4 separate regions of the Homo sapiens genome follow, and all the other regions are linked to region 2. The links are contacts of gene promoters, found by promoter capture Hi-C in blood cells and fetal thymus (Javierre and others, 2016). All regions are on one chromosome and are shown on one strand. Each heading gives the region's core, a stretch centred on a gene start or on the middle of the fragment in contact. The rest is flanking DNA. Distances are from core to core; before and after follow the strand shown.

Region 1 (5,251 bases), core at 1,675-4,174, 630 kb before region 2:
TAGAGGATGGATTAAAAGTGAAGAGATTGGAGGGGAGTTCAAACACCAGGCTGCTGAAACAGTCTGAGGAAGGACTGAAATAAAACTGTGACAAAGAGGACTGGATTCAAGGGACAATCCTGAAGTAGAAGCAACATGATGTAAGAAATAATGGAGTGAGGGTGTGATGAATCAAGGATGACAATGAGGTTTCCAATTTCGGAAGCACACATTCCAGGAGCCATCACAGTGATGGTGCCATCACTTGTCAGGTAGCCTCTGGAAAGCTCCCCTGTATACTCATAAAAGTGAAAGTGACAATGCCTTATTATTATTAGGAAATAGTTTTGACCCCAAAGACCCTCTGAAAGAATCTCAGGGATGCCTCCAAGGTCCTTGGTTCACACCATAGGACCTGCTGTTATAGGCAGTAAGTTAGGACTCCTCTCACCATCCCTGAGCCCTCTCCATGACCTACTCACCCACCAACAACCTCATAAATGCACTTGATCTGGAATTATTTGCACCTGGACTTGCTATTGCATCTTAGGTTTGGAGATCCTGACCTGGCTCAGCAAAGCTTCTGAGGTTGACTCTACTTCCATTTAGAGTAGTTTCATAAGCGCCCACCAATTTTGGGACCCTGACTTCTCTGCATGGCTTTACCTCTTGCTACTCAGATGTGGGGCATCTTCTGTTGTCTACAAGACAGTTCCACTCTGGCTCTGCACAAAGAGAAAGCATTCTCTACTCTGGACCCTGGGTGGGTGGTTGGGCAAAGCTAGATTCATCTTCTTAAGAAAACTACTCAAACCAAGCAGAGTCGATCTGCAAGATAATAAGAGTAGATATGCGAGTTAATGGGAAACCAGTGTTAGTCCTTGGAAAATAAAGCAGCATAAGAGAATTACTTACATTGTCAATTAAATTTTTAAATTAAATTCTGATTTTCGGAATTAATTAAAGAAGGAAGAGAGAGAAGACAAACAAAATGTGTATTTGTGTGTGTTTGTGTGCACGTGTGTGTGTTTGTAGTTATTCTCTTTAAAAAAAAATAGTGCCTTACAAAGTGGAAATGAAATAGTAAGCATGATGGACGGTGAGGATTAGCCATTGTAGAGAAATATAATTTTAGTGGATTGAAATTTATTTGGAAACCTTTTCCTATAGACAAACGTATCTCATTTTACGAGGCCTCCTTGATTTAGTTTGGTTTAAAAGTCAATGGAGAAATATATTCCATTTGATCAAATTGTCAAGTACAGCTTGTTAATGTGTCTGTGTGAGTTTCAACATATCACCACTCAAGTGTTGGATTTGTCCTTGTGTGTAAGCCACAGCAATGTCCCTCCTTCCTTCTCCACTTTCCTCTTCAAGCACAAGTCTCTTGGCCTACAAGTTTCTTAGACTACAGACTCCCATGATGGAGGTTTTCCCCCTATATGACCTACAGCTTAGTATGGTATTTCTAGATGTTTGTATAAGAACCTGTTTAACTGATTTCAGAGTCTTTTCTCTCTTCCCATGTTTTTCCCCCAAATTACTTTTTACTTTGTATTTGAAATATTTTTATGAATTTTCTAAATTTTAAAGGACTCTTGAATGTTTACTTATATTCTGACATGTTGAAAATATATTCCATTATCATGTTTAATCCCAGGACTTATGATGCTGGAAGCACGGAATGATTTAATGCTTTGCCTAGTCTTACCTAGCAAGCCAGAAGAGACATAGGCTTAAGCCGGACCAGCTGATCGTCAGTCCTATGCACTGCCCCTGAGCTGATTAATAGTTCCTTTTATTACTGTTGAACATTTGGTTCTTCTAGGGGGCCTCTGGGTCAGTCACTACCACCATATTAGGCCACACTCTGACAAGTAGTTTTGTTCCTACAAAGAATCTAATTTCTTTCTCCAACGTGTGGCCTCCTAAGACCACTGTGCTCCGCTGGTGATGCTTGAGTTACTCAGGGAAAGAGGCAGATAGCCAAAAATTCACCAATTTTAGCAGAAAACCCTGCCATCAGCGACAGCTGGAGCATCACAAAATCTATAAACACACTTGTTACTCATCTGCTGTGCCTGTAGGACAAGCCAGGCATGTGACCACTGAACATCTTGTAGAGGAGAGGTTTCCTAGGCGGGTCTCCTGACAGAAACTGAGATGAGAAAAATCAAATGAGCTTGGCGTTCAGAACATTGTGTGTTATTAGTTGAGCCCTGTTTTGAAAGAGGAGACCTACCACCTAAATGTAATTTAAAGAATTGAGAGATGGAGTGACAATTGGGTTAGATGCATCAATATGAGCACTGTTAATTCAATATATGAACTGGGGAATCGCTGAGTTTGAGTACTAATTGGTTACAGAGGAATTTTCTTTAAAAACTCTTAAAAGGCTTTGTACCTAGCATTTTATCATCTAGAAAAAGGCAAAGTTTTGGTAAAATGCAATCCTAGTGACAGAGTAAATTTACATCACATAACCACAAGCTTGGTAGAAAGTGGCATGTTATTCCCATAAACATCTTGGACATCTAAAGTTAAAAATCGTAGGTGTTATAGAAAAAGATCTTTGTTTCTAGTTTTTGGGTATTTAATTTTTAAAATTTTGGCATTTGTTTTCTTATCCAAATGCCTGCCCATGCAAGAATTAGATTATCTGAATAGGAGATAAGATGTACTTAGACCCTTTGATTAAATTTTCTTGGATTTTAGGCATATAACCATAGATCCTTGTCTAATGAATATTTTTTATTTACTATTTTTCAAATCACAAACTAATGAAAGGACATACAAACAAACGTGCTCTCATAATTCAGTTCATTCTTTTAGACTCCTTGAATGTAAGAGCAAGGTACATATATTTTACTTCCAGTGCAATTCTCTATGGTATCTAAGTGCCATGAACACTCACCAGTGCTGTCTCATGATCTAATACCCATGATTATTTGAGCTATTGACTTAGGATGATCCCAGCCTGTAGGTCTCATTTGCAAAGTTCTTTAAACATATGCCTTTGTGATGAATCAAAGTCATTTCTTGAAAAAAACAGAGCTCTGACCAGATACTATGTTAGATATTTGATGGGAAATATATATTCCAACTTGGATATATATTGAGCTCCAAGCCCAATATATGTGATGATAGCAACTATTATTTACTATTTATTGTATACCTATCACTGTGATGGGTATCTTATATACATTATGTCTGTTATTCCTCTCAAAAACCCCATAAGATAGGCATATTATTTCCAATTTTACAAATGAGAAAAACCAAAGTTTGTTAATTAAATAACTTGCTCCAAGTTACACAGTTAGTAAGTGAAGGAGGAGTTATTTGAACTCAGGTTGTCTGATTCCACAGGCTTTGCATTCAGAGTGGCAGTATAATGTGTTTTGTAAGCTTCAGAGTCAAATTATAAGCTTTGACTCTGAAGCTAGATTACCCAGGTTTAAATCTTAGCTCTGCCCCTTAATAACCAATAACTTATGAGACCTGGGACAAATGACTACAAGGAAGTTTAAAATTGAACATGTGGCTTACATTTGAGGTCCATGTTGTATTTCTATTGGATAGTGCTAGGTCTGGACTTTTCCAAATGCTGTCTTTCATTCTTTATCTGTCCATGTATCTATTTATCTTATCTATCTATCTATCTATCTATCTATCTATCTATCTATCTATCATCTATCTAATTTTGCTTTTTTCTGTCTTGCCTCTTTTTATTTCTTTGCCCACATTGATGCTAAAGATGTCTTACTAAACACAATCCGATCCAGGCTCTTTTGTACTGAAAAGCTTTTGCTAGCTCCTATCACCTACAATGGAAAGCCTGAACTCCATTATGCGGCATACACAAACTTTTCATCCTCTCTCTACCTGTCCAGCCTCATCTCTCTCATGACTCTCTTCCTTGCACTTCACATCTTGGAAACACTAAGCTGTGCTTTGGTTCCCAGGTCATTTCACGCTTTTGCCTTTGCACTTGTTGTTCCCATTGCTTTGAAATCTCCTCCCCTTTCTGGTTGCAGTGACTGAAGTTTTACTCATCTCCCAAAATCTAACTCAGACATTGCCTCCTCTAGAAAGGTTTCCCAAAATGATCAGCCACCCCCTTCGTCCACCACTTTTGCAATGCTTCTGTTCTTTATGAATACTTTTATTACCTTTGCCAGATGTATAACTTGTTTTTCTGTCTGCCACCCCTACTAGCCTGAGTATACGGAGAATATAATTGTATATCATTTCCATATTGATAAAAAAGTGATTGAATAAACAAAACAATACCTTCTCTCAAGGAGAGAGATACACTTTTGTACAATAAAAATAAATATAACGCAAGATGTAAGATATGTCATAAGGCCAGGTGCTCACGCCCGTAATCCCAGCACTTTGGGAGGCCAGTGGGGGTGGATCATGAGGTCAGGAGATTGAGACTATCCTGGCTAACATGGTGAAACCCCATTTCTATTCAAAATACAAAAAATAAGCCAGGCGTGGTGGCACACGCCTGTAGTCCCAGTTACTCGGGAGGCTGAGGTAGGAGAATCGCTCGAACCTGGGAGGCAGAGGTTGCGGTGAGCTGAGATCGCGCCACTGCACTCCAGCCTGGGTGACAGAGTGAGACTCTGTCTCAAAAAAAAAAAAAAAAGTGTCATAAGACAGAGCAATCAATAAATGTCCATTTGCAAGCAGAAAAGAAGTCAATTAATTTTGACAAAAATTTAAAAGAAAAAAGGCCGGGCGCGGTGGCTCACGCCTGTAATCCCAGCACTTTGGGAGGCCGAGGCGGGCGGATCACGAGGTCAGGAGATCGAGACCATCCCGGCTAAAACGGTGAAACCCCGTCTGTACTAAAAATACAAAAAATTAGCAGGGCGTAGTGGCGGGCGCCTGTAGTCCCAGCTACTTGGGAGGCTGAGGCAGGAGAATGGCGTGAACCCGGGAGGCGGAGCTTGCAGTGAGCCGAGATCCCGCCACTGCACTCCAGCCTGGGCGACAGAGCGAGACTCCGTCTCAAAAAAAAAAAAAAAAAATTAAAAGAAAATGTAATGAGGTAGGGAAACATTGATTGACTGGCTGATATAAGATCTCTCAAGATGGCCTTACCTTTGTCAGTGTAGCATAGTCCCCAGCTGACTCTCAAATATGCAGATTCTAAACCAGTTTTGTCATTGTTCAAACAATATCTAGGGATACTATACTCATGCTACCTGAAGACACGGGACACTGAGGCTAAACTAGAATTCTAGTTTCTTGCTTCAGAGGG
Region 2 (4,893 bases), core at 799-3,298:
TCAAGATTTAGGATTTTGAAGGAAGAAGGTGAAAGCGGGGGAAGACGATTTTAAAAGAAGGGCTGGGTTATTAAATTGAAAAGATTAATCCCGGAGCCTTCCCCTCTGTCAAAAAACCCTGAAAGTGACTAAATTGACACCAACTCTGGATGTTCCTTAGGAAAAAAACAAAACAAAACAAAACAAAACAAGATTAAAAAGGGCCCAATTTAAGACCCTTATTAATACATCTGCAAGAGAGCAAAGAATAACAACAACAACAAAAGTTATACAGTCAATTTTCAATGATACATCGTCCCACTGGTGCCACCGGGGCGCCACCACCCAGCACCCGAGACCCGCCGCGCCCCCGGAAAAAGTGGGAAGGGACGTAGGGGGATGCTGAAGGAAGTACCTTGTTTTGTCTCCAAAGGGCAACATAGCAAACGTGGGAAGTTCGTTTTCGAACTCCGCCGATCCTGGACTCCAGGAGGCTCCGTAGGGGCAACAACGCGCGCAGGTGAGGTGAGGTGAGGTCGGCGACTCAGAACCAGCTCCCTCACGGCCCCGGCCTCCGCGCCGCCGCCCGTCGCCTCCCGCTCGCCCCGCGCTGCGCCGCCCCCTGGCGGGGAGCGACCGGCAGAGCCGCGGCCGCGCGCCGGCGAGTGGGACCCGGGCGTCGAACCCGGGCGGGCTCCTCGACCATCACTGCCGGGCGTGTGTCACCCTCCCGGCCAAGACGGCCAGCACCCGCTGCCCGACGGCCGCTGCCCAGAGCAGGCGGCAGCGGGGCACGGACTCTTTCTGCAAAGGGGCGCGTCCTGGAGTCCACGCACCCCGACTATGCATCAATTCCTCAGGCTTCGGGGCACCCGCCCGCCAAGCACTCTCTGCTCCACTCTTCTTGTCCCTCTGCTCCCAGTCTCAATTCCTCCCCAACTCTCCCGCGAGCGTTTCCCACGAGCGCCCCGACTGCCCGCTGCGCAGCCGCCTCCAAAAGGACAGGCTCCCTCCTCCCCGCCCTCCGCAAGGGCCGCCCCGGCGCTTGGCTCTGGACCAGAAAGAGCTGGCCTCTGGGGTCTGCGCTGCCCCTTGGGGTCCGCTCCAGGCGGCGCCTCCCCTGCGCCCTTTGTGTGCACGCCGCAAACCCCTCTGCAGAGCTCTACTTTTGGCGGCACAGCCTTCGGCGGAAAAGCGAGTGAAAGGAGGCGCGCGGGACAAGCAGGAGACTGGAAGGGGGGAAAAGGCAACCGCACTCACTTTGGCAAGGTTCCGTCATGTTGCCTTTGGGCTGTCCCGTGGACTCGTCCCTCACCCCAGCTTCCCCGCCCAGCCAGGGCCAGGGCGAGGGGGGACGGGGGAGGAGCGGAGCCATCAAGACCGACTTGGAAATGGTGCTTCCGGAGCTGCAGGGAAGGGGCTCAGAAACTGTTTGGGTTTTGCTGATTGGATTTTGGGGAACCAGAGGGCTAGAGAGGGGCTAGGGGAAGGCCCGTGAGCACGGATGTATGAAAATAATCATGTTCCCGGGGAATACCAAGAGGGTCGGGGGTGAGGGTGGGAGGTCGGCAAGTACATTTTTGTATTTGAACTTTGTGAGCAAGTTGTATCAAATCCGACACTTGAGTTTTTCGACTGTGCTCGCTTAGAGTTGAGGTTTCTACCTCGTAACAGGACCGAGGACCTACTTCAAAAGCAAAGGGCCTGGGAACAGGGGTGAACGAAGGGCACAATTCAACAGGGGAGAGAAATCAGCCCCGGGTCTTCCGTGGGTCCTCTTCTTACCTGGTGGCTTTTCTAACAAAGTATGAGAAGGTAAAGTCCCAGTGATCGTCCAGCCATGCTTCGACCGAGTCCTGATCCCTCTGCTGCTGCTTCTGCTGCTGGGGCTGCTGCTGCTGTCGCTGCTGCCCGAAGCTGGGGCCGGCCCGCTCCATGGTTGGCACCGCGCGCCTCGGAGGCTCTCTGGTACTGCTTTTCCACCCCAGCTGGGGTCCGTCCCTCAGAAGAACAGGACTCGGCCTCGAGACCCTCCCCCTTCGTCCTGCTCCAGTCGGGCCGGCTTTCGACAAAGCGGCCGGAGCGCCAGGCCAGCCTCCTGCCCCGCCCCGCCCCGCGCGGTTCTACGGGCGCCCAGGTGTGGTGGGCGGGGCCAGGCGCAGCTGCTGCGCCCCCCCCACCCGGGGTCCGGCAGTGTTCCGCTCTCGCAGGCTCTTCAGTCCCCTGGTTCCCAGGAGGCGGCGGCGGCGGCGGCAGCGGCAGCGCCCGGCGAGCTCTCCGGAAGCCAAGTGGCGGCGGCTGGAAGGAGGCCGCGCGGCCGCTGGGGTGCGCTGTGTGCCAAGCCGACTTCTGGGGAGCGCGCTAGGTGACTGGGTGTGTTCTCAGAGTGCCCCAGGGAGGGAAGGTCGCGATGTGGGAAGTTTTGCCCGAAAGTAAGAGATGATGAGACCCTGGGCCCTTTTCCTGGGGCCTGGGAGTGCAATGACCTTCCCGCCTAGCTTTTCCCTAGCCCTACGCTTGGGTCTGGGAGGAGCGGGACCGACCTCCTTCAGAGCCCAGCCCGCTCAGTGACTTAAAGCGGTCCAGCCACGGACCACTGCGGGTGGAGAGAGCTGGGGCGTGTGCTAGCAAGAGAGATTTGCAGGTGTAGGTGGGTAACTTGCAACAAAGCCATACCCGTGCTTAATGTTAATGATAACAGCAATAATTATAACTTAAGTGCCTTTAACCATTGCCTCAAACTTCCCTTATGCATAACTGGAAAAAGATTTACTTGGAAAAGAAAAAGCAAACAAATAATTTCCAATGCTTTGTGCATGAAGTTAGAAAACAAGGGCACCTCTGTACAATTAGGTTAATCCGAGAGCACTGGCGCAACCCAGGTGCAGTCGAGGGCAACCAGTTATCCCAATTTTAAATTAATGCATCATTTTAATTAAATTGGAATTAACACTCCCTCAAAAGTATCCATTAAAAATGGCTCAGCCTTTTTGTCCAATCCCTATCTTGCTTCTTTAAAAAAGGAATTGGTGTCATCCTTTGCTTTGTCTGCATCCCCATCTTCCTGTCATGCATTGGCAGTTTTAATATGGCATTTTGCAATGACCTATATTTTTTGGTAGAATTAAATCTGGAATTATGGGTTGCACAATGTGTGAATGACACCATTAGCAGTGATATAAAAAAAAATGAGTTAGCTGATATACTTCTGACAACTTCCTTCTAAATACTCTTGGCAAGAATTTAAGGCATTATTCACTACATAGAAACACATCATTAAATTGATAATCTGAGAACTTTTAAAAGTATCTTCTAGTCCCCCAATGCAATGGTTTATCTTTCCTTCATTGAGTAATTGACCTTTTGCGACTTCAGTTTTTCTGAAACTTTACTGCTGTATGCAGGTAGCCACAACCAAAGAAAAGCAATCAAAGCAGTAGAGTATGAACTAATGGGTGATAAATTATATTGGATTTAGAAATGAGAATTCTCTCCTAATGTGTTACTATGATAGTGATTATAGTGCTCATGGAATACAGTCATGCGTCACCGAACAACAGGATACATTCTGAGAAATGTATCCTTAGGCAATTTCATCCTTCTCTGAACATCACAGTGTACTAACACAAAATAGATGGCTCAGCCTACTACACACTTAGGCTATTGCTCCTAGACCACAAATCTATACAGCATATTACTGTACTGAATACTGTAGGCAATTGTAATGCAATGATATTTGTGTGTCTAAACATATCTAAACATAGAAAAGGTACAGTAAAAATATAGTATTATCTTATGGGACTCATATATGTGGTCTGTCGTTGACTGAAAAGTGGCACATTACTGTGGAAAGTTTCTCCTCAGTACAGTTTTTTCTTGTGGAAATCCATGCATTCCTCCTAACAGGAGATCAATCGTAATTTAAAACTCTGCTTATCTACTAAAGATGCAGTGAATTTGGGGCTTGAATTATTTGCTTTTGTTGGATACTTGATTAAATAAACACGTATAATCATTTCAATGTTTGTATTCCCTCCAAAATTCATGTTGAAACTTAATCCCTAATTCAACAGTATTAAGAGGAGGTGCCTTTAAGTGGTGATTAGACCATTAGGGCTCTGCCTTTGTGAATGCATTAGTGCCTTTTTAAAAAAAGGCCCAAAGGAGACAGTTGGCCCCTTCTATTCTTTCCACTATGTGAAGACACAGCACTGACCCTTGCTGAGGATGCAGCAACAAGGTGCCATTTTGTAAGCAAAGAGCAGCCCTCACCAGTTGCCAAATCTGCTGGCACTTTGATTTTGGAGTTTCCAGCCTCCAGAACTGAGAGAAATTAATTTCTATTGTTTATAAATATCCCAGTCTGTGATATTTTATTACAGCAACACAAATGGACTAAGACAGTGGGTAATATCAAAATGTTCATTTTTCTCTCCTAACCTGAAAGGGTTAAATTATCAGAAACCAGGAAGGTTTCTGAAAAATTGCTTCAAGAAAAACAATCTATAGGCTGGGCACAGTGGCTCATTCCTGTAATCTCAGAACTTTGGGAGGGAGAGGTAGAAGGATACTTGAGCTCAGGAGTTTGAACCAGCCTGGGCCACATGGCATGACCCCATCTCTACACAAAATTTTTAAAAATTAGCCAGGCATGGGGGAACACACCTGTAATCCTAGTTATTCGAGAGGCTGAGGCAAGAGGATTGAGCCCAGGAGGTCAAGGCTGCAGTGAGCCATGATCGTGCCATTGCACTTCAGCCTCAGTGACAGTGTAAGACCCCCGGCTCTATAACAAAAAAGAAAAAAAAAGAAAAACAGTACATAGATTCTCTCAATAGTGAATCTCAAGTCTGTGTGGTATATATGATAGTTTGGGAGTTACTGTGAAGGCCTATTACCTGAGAAACATATCAC
Region 3 (5,125 bases), core at 147-2,646, 650 kb before region 2:
GTCCCATTGTAAGTTGAGGAGCATCTGTAGAGTGAAAAACGTTTGAATTTTTGAGTAAGTCAGAATTATAGAATTAGTAATTCTATATTATTATGTGAATTCTGTTAATTATTATATGAATTCCATCAATTATAGAATTATTAATTCAAGGATTCTATTATACTATTATTAAAATTATAGTACCTCAAATATAAGACTTTCTCAGCATTTTAAAAAGTAGTTTTATTATACATATATACGTATAATGATTCTAGTAAGGCACACACTTGCACTAAGTGTGTGCACACAGAGGTCAGCTTCCTTTCACGGTGGTGCTGATTTTTAAGAGAAAGCCACAGCATAGCACGTATGATATGATACTGGCAGTTTTCGTTTCTGTGATGAGTGAGGATGAATTAATCCCTGTGCATGTCAGGTTTGGCTAACCACCATAAAAATTTCCCTTCACCAAATGTAAATATGTATCTTGCCAAGTACTTTCCACTTACTTTTTAAGCTTCATGTTTTTATTGGAAATTTAACCCATGCGTGTTGAGTTATTTACTGAACTCGGAATACTGTTGGGCAAATGCCAGTTCATAGCCAAAAAATTCCCTCCCCACAAAAGAACCCACCATAAATAGCCACATTTTTTTCTTCTTTCCTTTCATTTTCCTAACCACAATTTTGGATATTAATTAGTATCAGAACTAAAAGAAGCCTAGTTTGGTCCTGAAGTTACATAAAAGCTATATAGGCTACACCAATCAGTAGCCACTGGACATAAAACCTAAACAAACCCCACTGAAATAAGCAATCTAACATCACTCAGAACATAGTTTAACACAAGTAAATTCTTCATTGACCTGTTTTAAGATTCTTCTTTCTTCACAAAAGCAGGAGTCAGGTATTATTGTTCCCATTATACAGCTGAGGACGCTGACTTAAATCATCAACCTGCTTATCTTGGTCATATGATTTTAATTTTTGAAAAGAGAGTTGAGAATGAGAGTTAAACATAGCTAAATATTAAACCTGGACAATAATTATGTTTGAGCTAAGAAAAGAGGCATTTCTACAACACCTTTAGTGGGAGAGTAAATTTTAGTGCTCAAAGGGAATCAGCCGTAGCAAGTGGCATCTGTAGCATTTCTCAGTGGGATGAGATAGAAAATCTCACACAGGTATTGTATCTCAGGCCTTAGAGATTCCATACCTAGTTGTAGTGGTGGCTCTTTTTAGAGCCAAGTTATATAACAGGCTTTCTTGTTTGTGAATATACAGTCCATCCTTGACTCTCTTGCCCATCCTTGGCCACTGGCCCAGCAGAGGCCTAGACCCAGAATATTGTGGAAAACTGGATTTCTTGCCAGATTAGGTTTGACTTCCCTCACAGTTCACTTGTCCACACCTATGACTTCTCCCACATCTATCCCTAATTGATATGTTCAGCCTTGATTTTTCATTTGTCTTCTAGTCTTAATTCAACAATTTGATTGATTTTAACACATCCCTTTGCTTGGATACTTGCTAGCAATGTTCTCACATACAATCAATGTTAATACTGAAAATTTTGAAAAGAGAGCTGGGATTTTAGGGTTTCTTTCCCCAGATTTTGATTCTTTCCCTATGTTTCTTTCTTCTACCAACAGCATCACCATTATTAGGACTTTAGATTCATCCTTGACTTCTGCTTCTCTACATACCCTATCTCTCACTAAGGTGCAGTTTGCTTCAAATGTTGTCTCTTACCTCCTTCCTGGGGTTATTACAGATAACTCTAATCCAGGCTCTCATCACGTTGTTTTTGCAGAACTTTAATGGTTTCCTTGTTTCTCTATCTTCAGTCATCTCCTGTCTAGTCCATCCTACACACTGACTAATCTCCCTAGAGTGCTTACAAACCAATAATAATTTCTCATCACTACTGGATGAGAGCCAAGTGTTACATTCTGGCATTCAAAACTCTTTTCAATATGGTTCTACCCCAGTAATCCAACCTTACTTTCAATAACCTGTCACACACACCTTGCACCCACGTGAGGCCACCCTCTGCACCTCCAGGAGTACACCAGACTCTTTCCCACCACTGTTCTGTCATACTTATCTTATGGGCCACATATCGCTCAGTCATTGGGCTAAAGGAGCTAGACAAAGACCAGCACACAGAGTAACAAATAATTTGGGTGACAGATCCCAAAATCTATGTAGTACTACTGCTAGAAGGAAGACTAATCAACAAGTAGAATAGAGTTTGGGCACCTATGGCAACAGAAAATTTGGGGTTGTCTGGGCAAGAAGTTCCTTTCAGAAAAAGCCAAGCTTTAAGAGTGGGAATAGGCTGGCATATGAATGACAAACAGAGATGAAGGATCCAATACAACCATTATGAGGAACTTAAGGATACACACAGACAGGACTTGGGATATCTACTAACAAGTGGTAGCAGAGTCCAAGCAATCAGGCGAAATTCAAGAGCAGGACTTTCACCCCCAGGAAGGAGGAGGAGGTGCAAGGGGAAATTCCTGTCATAGAAGAGCTGGGTTACCACACAATTTATTAAGGGCACAATTAAGTCACAAAGAGTAAGACACACAGGGATATAGTTACAGGATTAGTTCCCTAGCACAAGGCAGAAGCCTAATCATCAAAACTTGGACTCTGGATCAGAGCCAACCAGCATTAAGTGACCCAGTCTCATACCCCAAAAAACACAGGGCTAAGAATATGTGCTCCACAGCCTGAGAGGGAATCTACCATAGTAAATGCCTTTGAACTTGAATTTCATTCTCCTGCCACTAGCTGTATGATCAGACACAAGTCCCATAACTTTTGTGAGCCTTACTTTCCTCAAAGTCAGGAGAAAAATAAATATTTTACAGATTTGTTGCAAAAATATAAAAGTGCCGGCTATGGAGACTGCCATTTATTAATAGACTCCCTGTCCCCTACCAGAGCTTTTGAAATCTTTCTTGCCCAATAACTGGATTGACTCTAGTGACTTTGTGTCCAGAATTGGTGGGTTCTTGGTCTCACTGACTTCAAGAATGAAGCCGCGGACTCTCGCGGTGAGTGTTACAGCTCTTAAGTTGGCACGTCTGGAGTCTGTCCCTTCTGATGTTCAGATGTGTTCGGAGTTTTTTCCTTCTGGTGGGTTCGTGGTCTCGCTGGCTCAGGAGTGAAGCTGCAGACCTTTGCAGTGAGTGTTACAGCTCTTAAGGCAGCGCGTCTGGAGTTATTCATTCCTCCCGCTGGGCTCGTGGTCTCAAGAGTGAAGCTGCAGATCTTCGCGGTGAGTGTTACAGCTCATAAAAGCAGCGTGGACCCAAAGAGTGAGCAGTAGCAAGATTTATTGCAAAGTGCAAAAGAACAAAGCTTCCACACTGTGGAAGGGGACCCTAGCGGGTTGCCAATGCTGGCTAGGGCAGCCTGCTTTTATTCTCTTATCTGGCCCCACCCACAACCTGCTGATTGGTAGAGCCGAGTGGCCTGTTTTGTCAGGGCGCTGATTGGTGCATTTACAATCCCTGAGCTAGATACAAAGGTTCTCCACGTCCCCATCAGATTAGTTAGATACAGAGTTTCCACACACAGGTTCTCCAAGGCCCCACCAGAGCAGCTAGATACAGAGTGTCGATTGGTGCATTCACAAACCTTGAGCTAAACACAGGGTGCTGACTGGTGTGTTTACAAACCTTGAGCTAGATACAGAATGCCGATTGGTGTATTTACAATACTTGAGCTAGACATAAAGGTTCTCCACGTCCTCACCAGAGCAGCTAGATACAGAGTGTCGATTGGTGCACTCACAAACCTTGAGCTAAACACAGGGTGCTGATTGGTGTATTTACAATCCCTGAGCTAGATAATAAAGACTCTCCACGTCCCCACCAGACTCAGGAACCCAGCTGGCTTCACCTAGAGGATCCCGCACCGGGGCTGCAGCTGGAGCTGCCTGCCAGTCCGGCGCCGTGCGCTCGCATTCCTCAGCCCTTGGGTGGTCGATGGGACTGGGCGCCGTGGAGCAGGGGGTGGTGCTCGTCAGGGAGGCTCGGGCCGCACAGGAGCCCATGGAGGGGGTGGGAGGCTCAGGCATGGCGGGCTGCAGGTCCCAAGGCCTGCCCCGTGGGAAGGCAGCTAAGGCCCGGGGAGAAATCGAGCGCAGCGCCGGTGGGCCAGCACTGCTGGGGGACTCAGTACACCCTCTGCAGCCACTGGCCTGGGTGCTAAGTCCCCCATTGCCCGAGGCCGCAGGGCTGGCCAGCTGCTCCGAGTGCGGGGCCTGCCAACCCCACGCCCACCCGGAACTCCAGCTGGCCCGCAAGCGCGGCACGCAGCCCCGGTTCCCGCTCACGCCTCTCCCTCCACACCTCCCTGCAAGCTGAGGGAGTGGGCTCCGGCCTTGGACAGCCCAGAAAGGGGCTCCCACAGTGCAGGGGACTGAAGGGCTCCTCAAATGCCACCAAAGTGGGAGCCCAGGCAGGGGAGGTGCCGAGAGCAAGCGAGGGCTCTGAGGACTGCCAGCATGCTGTCACCTCTCAACTTGAGGAGACACTAGCCTTGTGGGTGGGATCCAGCCATTCTCCTGATGGCAGGGAAGAGCTTCAGAGGCTAGAAATCAGACATGTCTGGATCATAATCCTACCTTGTCTGTGGAGCATCAACTCTGCCCTATAGAAATTTCTGCATTATGTAGGCCTTCTTTGAACGTATATCATGGTGAGTAGTGCTTGACCTTGTACAGTGTTAGCAATCCCACTTTTGACATCTCTAAAGCAACCCTGTAGGTTTATGGCATTGCCACTTATAATTTTGCAAAGACATAACTTCCACTCAGGAGTTCTGCAAGCCTGGTTCCAGGTAGTAGGTTACTAGCCAAGTGAGTGAACCCAGCAAATAGGACCTCATATATAGTCCAACATAGTTTTGTTGTTATCAAGTTGCCGTTGCATGAATATTTTATGAGGGAATTATATGCTACTGTAGAATTTGTGGATTGGGAATTTTCTAAGATCTTTGGGTGAATTCCTTGAAAACGTCAATGGCTTATGATGTCATAACTTATTGATTTTCTAGTTGCAACTTGCTTCTTGGCCAGATTTGCCCATCTAAATTTCAAGCTTCTCTAGGAATGAGCCAAGTCACA
Region 4 (5,493 bases), core at 1,720-4,219, 860 kb before region 2:
TTTTCTGAGGGAACTCCAGGATGATTGTGTTAATACTTGCTCATGTATACACAGTGTACTGATTAGAGAATAGGGCTTCTGTGATCACACAGATACGGTTTTCAGTCTGGCTCTGTTACTTTCTGGATGTATGGCCTGAAGCTGGCACTTACGCGGTCTCTAAGCCTAAGTTTCCTCAAGTAATGATGGTACGCACCACATGGGTTCACCGTGAGGACTAAATGATACAATACATAGAAAGAATTTAGCCTACAGCTTGGCACATGGTAAATGTTCAATAATGTTAATTTTACCATCTAAAATCAACATTAAGATGAGCCAAGATGAATAGGAAAATGTGATTTTGTAATTCCTCTTTCCAAGTGCATGGTGTAAAAAATACATGTACAAATTAAATAAGCTTTTTCATTGTCTGAATAGCTAAGCCAACTCATTATTATACTTTATTTACATTTTAAATTATAATCAAATTTGAAGATGTTTACAGCATATTTATTATGAACTCTACTTGGAATAATAAAAGGAAGATTATGCTTACAAAAAGTTCTTCAAAATGTACAATTTTTATTTGGTTCCTTGCCTGGCTGGGTGAGATTTCCCATCAATTAGACTTCTGGAATATTTCCAGATAACAGAGTTTGAAGATACTAAGACTTTTGTTCCCAGAAACAGATTTGACTCTCTGCCTAAGTTACTACTAAAAAAGCATATAATCAAGATCATGTCACTTTTTTGGCAGAGAACTAGAAACTGAGAGCAGGGTTAGATTTATACTATGGTTGCAAAGATCGGCAAATAAATTTTCCATCATTAGTTACAATGGCTTTCTTACATTGAATTAAAACATTAAATGTTTGCATGTTGCCCAATGATTCTCCTTCAGTTAACAGCAGTTAGGAACAACTAAACTGTCCAAAAGTCACTGTATTTTAGGACATGCTTCTTGCCTAAAATAAAGCATTTGTACCAAAAATATTCCTAAATTTCCCTAAGTATGTTCAGATGTTGCAACATCTTAAACTAATAAAGCATCACATTTTCTTTAACAACTAGTTCTACGTAGTATATTGCAAAATAATCATATAAAGTAGTAAAATAAATGCAATAAGTTATGTTAATGGAAAAAATTTTAAGAGCCAGTCAACTGAAAAAAATTCTAGTTAGGAAAAATGTTCATTATCATCTACACTCAATACATGACTGCTCGCCTTGCAAACATCTATGAAAGAAATCTGTGGGTCAGAAGCTGTTTTCTGGGAATTGGGCATTAGTAGGCACTCATTTTTAGAAGAGAAAATAAGAAAATAAGTTAGAATGGCCCTGTTTCTTCAAGTCTACACATGGTGCTTCAGATATGCGCTGAAATCTGAATGATACGCAAGAAGATGTGATTTTCAAATCAGTGAAGAATTTTAAAGCCTTGCAAGGTATCCATAATGATGTCATTGTGACACTGGACAAGGGAAATGGCTAGTCCTGGGAATAGTAATACCCGCAAATTCATTGTTTTATTCATTCCACATACACTGATCAACTACCTATCCCATGGCAGATAGTGTGGTAAATGTCATAAAGATGACGAGGATATCAGAATCTAAGAAGACGGCAGACATATAAGAAGGTTTAAATTCCATGGGGATAAATGCTAAAATAGAGATATAGACCAAATTCCGTGAAAAAACAGAAGCTATAGTAAATAATTACCATGATAAAGACAGAGAAAGTTGCAAATGCATATACACAATTAAAATTTCAGCCAGGCATTACAGAATAGGGAGGGGTTTGCCAGTTGGGGTATGTAAGATGTGACAGGAGAATGGAAAGATACTCTGGTCAGATGAACATCTGGTATAAAGGCATGGAGTTGTCAAAGGGGCTGAGTTCAGAGTATGTGGTGAAAAGTTTTGTATAACTGAAGAGACAGCTGAGGTGATAGTTTGGGGGGCAATGCTTAATGGCCTTACAAAGAAAGCTAAATTTTTTTTAATTTAATTTTTTAGAAAAGAAATAACCAATAGAGGTTTATGAGAGGCAGTGAGTGTGGGGGCGTGTCTCATGGTGACATTATAGAGCAGGAAAATCAAAGGCCAGGATCTCAGCCTGCTGAGATAGACAGTGTAAGGGGGATTCTGAGAGTCCAAACCATCGTGGTAGCAACAGGAGGGAAGGGAGGTACAGAAACACGTCAATAGTCCTACTAACCATTTTGGTTGAGCTTTTCTCTTGGAAGGGAAGTTTTTCTGAGACTCTTTACAAAATAAGGGAGGCAGAGGCACTGTACGGAACTACTGCATTAAGAACCAGGTATATTCTGTCTGGCAAGGACATAAAAAATTATTGTTTTCTATTTCTGACACCACATTTCAGTTTTTAAAAATAATTCCTCCAGTAGATGGTTTGGCAGTTGAATCATGTTAACAACCTAGGAGATGGGATCTGTGTCTTAGGCATTTCTACCACTCCATGGTACCACCAAAATGCTTTGTTTGTGAATCAAGAGTCAGTTCTTTACATATGAAAGTTATTCACTTGAATTTAACATCAATGTATAAACACTTGAAGTTCTGGGAACACTTACTCTGCAATAATCCAAAGTGGCAACATATTCATAAGATCCTAGAGATAACTCTGGTTTCTCATAGTGGTCCAGTCTTCTTCCAATGTGGTCCAGATGTTGGAAATAGAATGGTGGAACTAATAAAAACAAAATAGGAAAGAAAATATTTTGTTTTCATAAACACAGACAATTTAGTAAGTTCTCAAAATTTATTATGAGAGGAAAGGAGTTAGTATCTGGAAAAATGTATTTTAAAGCTGGAATGTAGTATACCGTAAATACCTACTATTTTAAAAACATGTCTTGGAAAAGAGGAGGGTTCTTATTCTATAAGTTATTGATGACAAAGAACATTTATGATTTAGACCATCCTAGAGAAACAGGGTATAAAAGTATTGGTGTTTTTAAGTTGTCACAACCCAAATTCAATTGTCCCCATTTTATTACCTCTTTTAAAAAGAATTCTGACTTTTCTAACTATTTGAATTTTTAATATACCTAACAGAAATAAACATTCGTTATTTGAACTATACTATGAACTACAATATTTATTATGCTTTAATTAAGAGATGTCTTCACCCATGTGGAGTTTGCATGGTAATCTTTTAATGTTTGCGCTTAAGAGTGGAGAGGATTACTGTATTAGGGAAAGACTACACCACTAAGATCTCAGCTAAGGAACTTTAATTTGATTCAAATGTCTAAGAAGGTTAGTTCTGGCAAAGATCTGGAAGTCATCCAATAGCACAGGAACACTTATGAGTCACATACTGAGCACTTGGACAAATATGGCCTGGTATCTCTGTAAAAACGAACTCCTGTTGCCTTGAGATTAATAGGGCTGGCTACTAAACCACTGCCAATAAAAGTATTTAGAAAAACTACCAATGCTCTGGTTTTAAACTTTTTGTAAAGAACAACATTGCCATTTGTAAAAACCATACAAATAATGCTTCTTGTTTTTAAGCCAACAATTTGGCATTATTTATTGTTAGCTGTGAAACTGACATAAGAATAACAAGACTGTTTTCTGAGGTTGTTCTTTTTTTAAAAAAAAAACCCACTGAGGCTTGATTGTTCTACGTTGTTACTGTATCATGGCCATTTCTTTTAAAGTAAATTTTATAAGGTTCTTATGCACATATGGATCTCTGAATTTGGAAGATTCAACTTCTTGAAAAGATTACATAAGTAGCAACTGACAGGCTCAGCTGAGGTAAGTAAACTTTGAGGGTCTTAAATTGCTATTTTGTTACATTTAGATGAGATGGAGGATGCTGCCTCGGCTATCTTAGAATGCATAGTACAGTAGTTTCCACATAGTATAACATACAATTCATTCACATCTACACACAGAAATGTAATATGTGAAATGTTTTCCCTTTAAATTTTATTTTATATTCATTAGCATTTAATATTGTCTATCATCTTTTGTAAGCCAACATTCAACTCATACCATAAATCATGTACTACCCTTTGGCCCCTGTCTTCCTGCATGTCTCTGACCACACATACTCCCCACTGGACAATCTCTGGACACTTTGCAAGGAAATAAGAGTGGAATCACTAAAGCAAGCCTGCTGGGTTCTTTCTAACTCCAACAAACCTCTGTCTTTGTTAAACCTAAAAGAAGACAGGTGTCAGCATACATCTATGGGAGTCTGGCTTCCTTGTAGGGACACATATTTAAGCCTAGTGTGAATAATTCTATTGGAAAATAAACATGGCAGCTTCCTAGGAATGGATACCTGAGGGAACATAATCTGCTGTGTTGAGACACAAGAATTCTGAGTCGTTTTTCTCTTCCTGGAAGTGGCTGGGCCTTTTAAGGCCCTGAGCCGACACTTTGGGTAGGAGGCCAAAGAGTCACAGCAAACTGAAGATCCTTGCTGCTCTTCATGGTGGGTATGATTTTGGTCACCTTTCTAAGAAAGCTGGGGGCTTGGGTGAAGACATCTGAGGAGCTGGTGGGCTCGCTGGAGGACTTTGTCCAAATGCTTTGGGAGAAGCCTCTGTCCCTTCTCAGGATTTTTTCCTCTAAAACTAAAGCACAGAGAAATGAATTGTCACAGGGTTCCTGAAATCCAGGTCCCAAGACTGAATGATAGCCATGAATTTGGTTGCAGATTTCATTCAGGTTGAGAGAGGAAACAAGATCTTCCTTAGAAAGAGAAGTGAGGGTAGAGAACTAACAATCTGGTCTCAATGGGATATCCAATTTGCCCTGAGTGGAAACCATAGTTAATGTAAGGAGAGAGACGTACCAAGAGGCTTAGGCCATAGGCTGGGATGAGTCTAGAAGCCAATGATTCAACTCCACAGCAAGGTGCGTTTAAGAACTGACCAAAGGTCTGCATGAGAAGCACTCGCAAGGCCAGTCTCTGGCGCCCTAAGTTGGGTAAAGCCATGGACTGTGTGTGTGCGAGATAAGGTGGCAGGGAAATAAGAAGGCAAGCAACGCTCTCCCACCAGAGAATGCTCACAGAGCCAAGATGCCATGAATGTAATGATGTAGGAGGAATACTGTCCCCAGCTCAGTCAGCATTAGGGAGTAGTCAGCACCCGTGGGTAGAACCATGTGTTCACAGGCAGACAGTGCTATATGTTCTTCAGATCTAATTACCTGCAGGGAAGCCTGTCTACAAAGATAAGAAACAGAGAAGAAAACTCATACTCTAGTAATCATCACATGGTTCAAAAAATGTCAATGAATATGGGAATGTTCTCAGCCTCAGTATGTACCTCATTTAACAACAAATAATTAAAAATATATAGACATGTTATAAATGTAATAAATGTGAAAACACTTTCAGCAACTTAGCAGTTTTCTTCAAAATCAGTAAATTCGTACTGGAATAAAACAAAATATAATGAATACGGGAAAGCCCTTTTTAATAATGTTCCTTCCTCCTTAAACAATCCAACATTTACATCGG

Evidence for each region. Contacts are between HindIII fragments. The CHiCAGO score rates a contact against its expected background, and 5 or more counts as called.
Region 1: a fragment that was not itself captured here is called in contact with the fragment with the promoter of PDE5A in region 2 in 1 of 17 cell types (endothelial precursors); the score reaches 5.3 in endothelial precursors.
Region 3: a contact is called between a fragment that was not itself captured here and the fragment with the promoter of PDE5A in region 2, in 5 of 17 cell types (total B cells, fetal thymus, activated CD4 T cells and 2 more). The highest score is 6.0, in total B cells.
Region 4: a fragment that was not itself captured here is called in contact with the fragment with the promoter of PDE5A in region 2 in 1 of 17 cell types (fetal thymus); the score reaches 6.1 in fetal thymus.

The regions. Positions count from the first base shown.
Region 1 is chr4:118,992,240-118,997,490 of GRCh38, forward strand. The region is part of intron 1 of SYNPO2 (synaptopodin 2); the gene reads left to right. Among named protein-coding and RNA genes, the nearest start is that of SYNPO2-AS1, 10 kb to the left of the region's middle. The HindIII fragment of the contact is 915 bases long and covers 2,468-3,382 here.
Region 2 is chr4:119,626,756-119,631,648 of GRCh38, forward strand. It overlaps PDE5A (phosphodiesterase 5A), which reads right to left and starts at 2,049. Exons shown (of 21, transcript NM_001083.4): 1 at 1,765-2,049. The coding sequence starts at 1,916. It overlaps LOC107986192 (a long non-coding RNA gene), which reads left to right and starts at 1,035. Exons shown (of 1, transcript NR_165235.1): 1 at 1,035-4,000. RefSeq lists silencers at 483-762, 1,983-2,382 and an enhancer at 893-942. The HindIII fragment of the contact is 7,676 bases long and covers 1-4,893 here.
Region 3 is chr4:118,973,091-118,978,215 of GRCh38, forward strand. All of the region lies in intron 1 of SYNPO2 (synaptopodin 2), which reads left to right. All of the region lies in intron 2 of SYNPO2-AS1 (SYNPO2 antisense RNA 1), which reads right to left. Among named protein-coding and RNA genes, the nearest start is that of SYNPO2-AS1, 9.1 kb to the right of the region's middle. The HindIII fragment of the contact is 1,805 bases long and covers 495-2,299 here.
Region 4 is chr4:118,762,224-118,767,716 of GRCh38, forward strand. SEC24D (SEC24 homolog D, COPII component) reads right to left here. Exons shown (of 23, transcript NM_014822.4): 10 at 2,579-2,694. Among named protein-coding and RNA genes, the nearest start is that of SEC24D, 71 kb to the right of the region's middle. The HindIII fragment of the contact is 5,143 bases long and covers 399-5,493 here.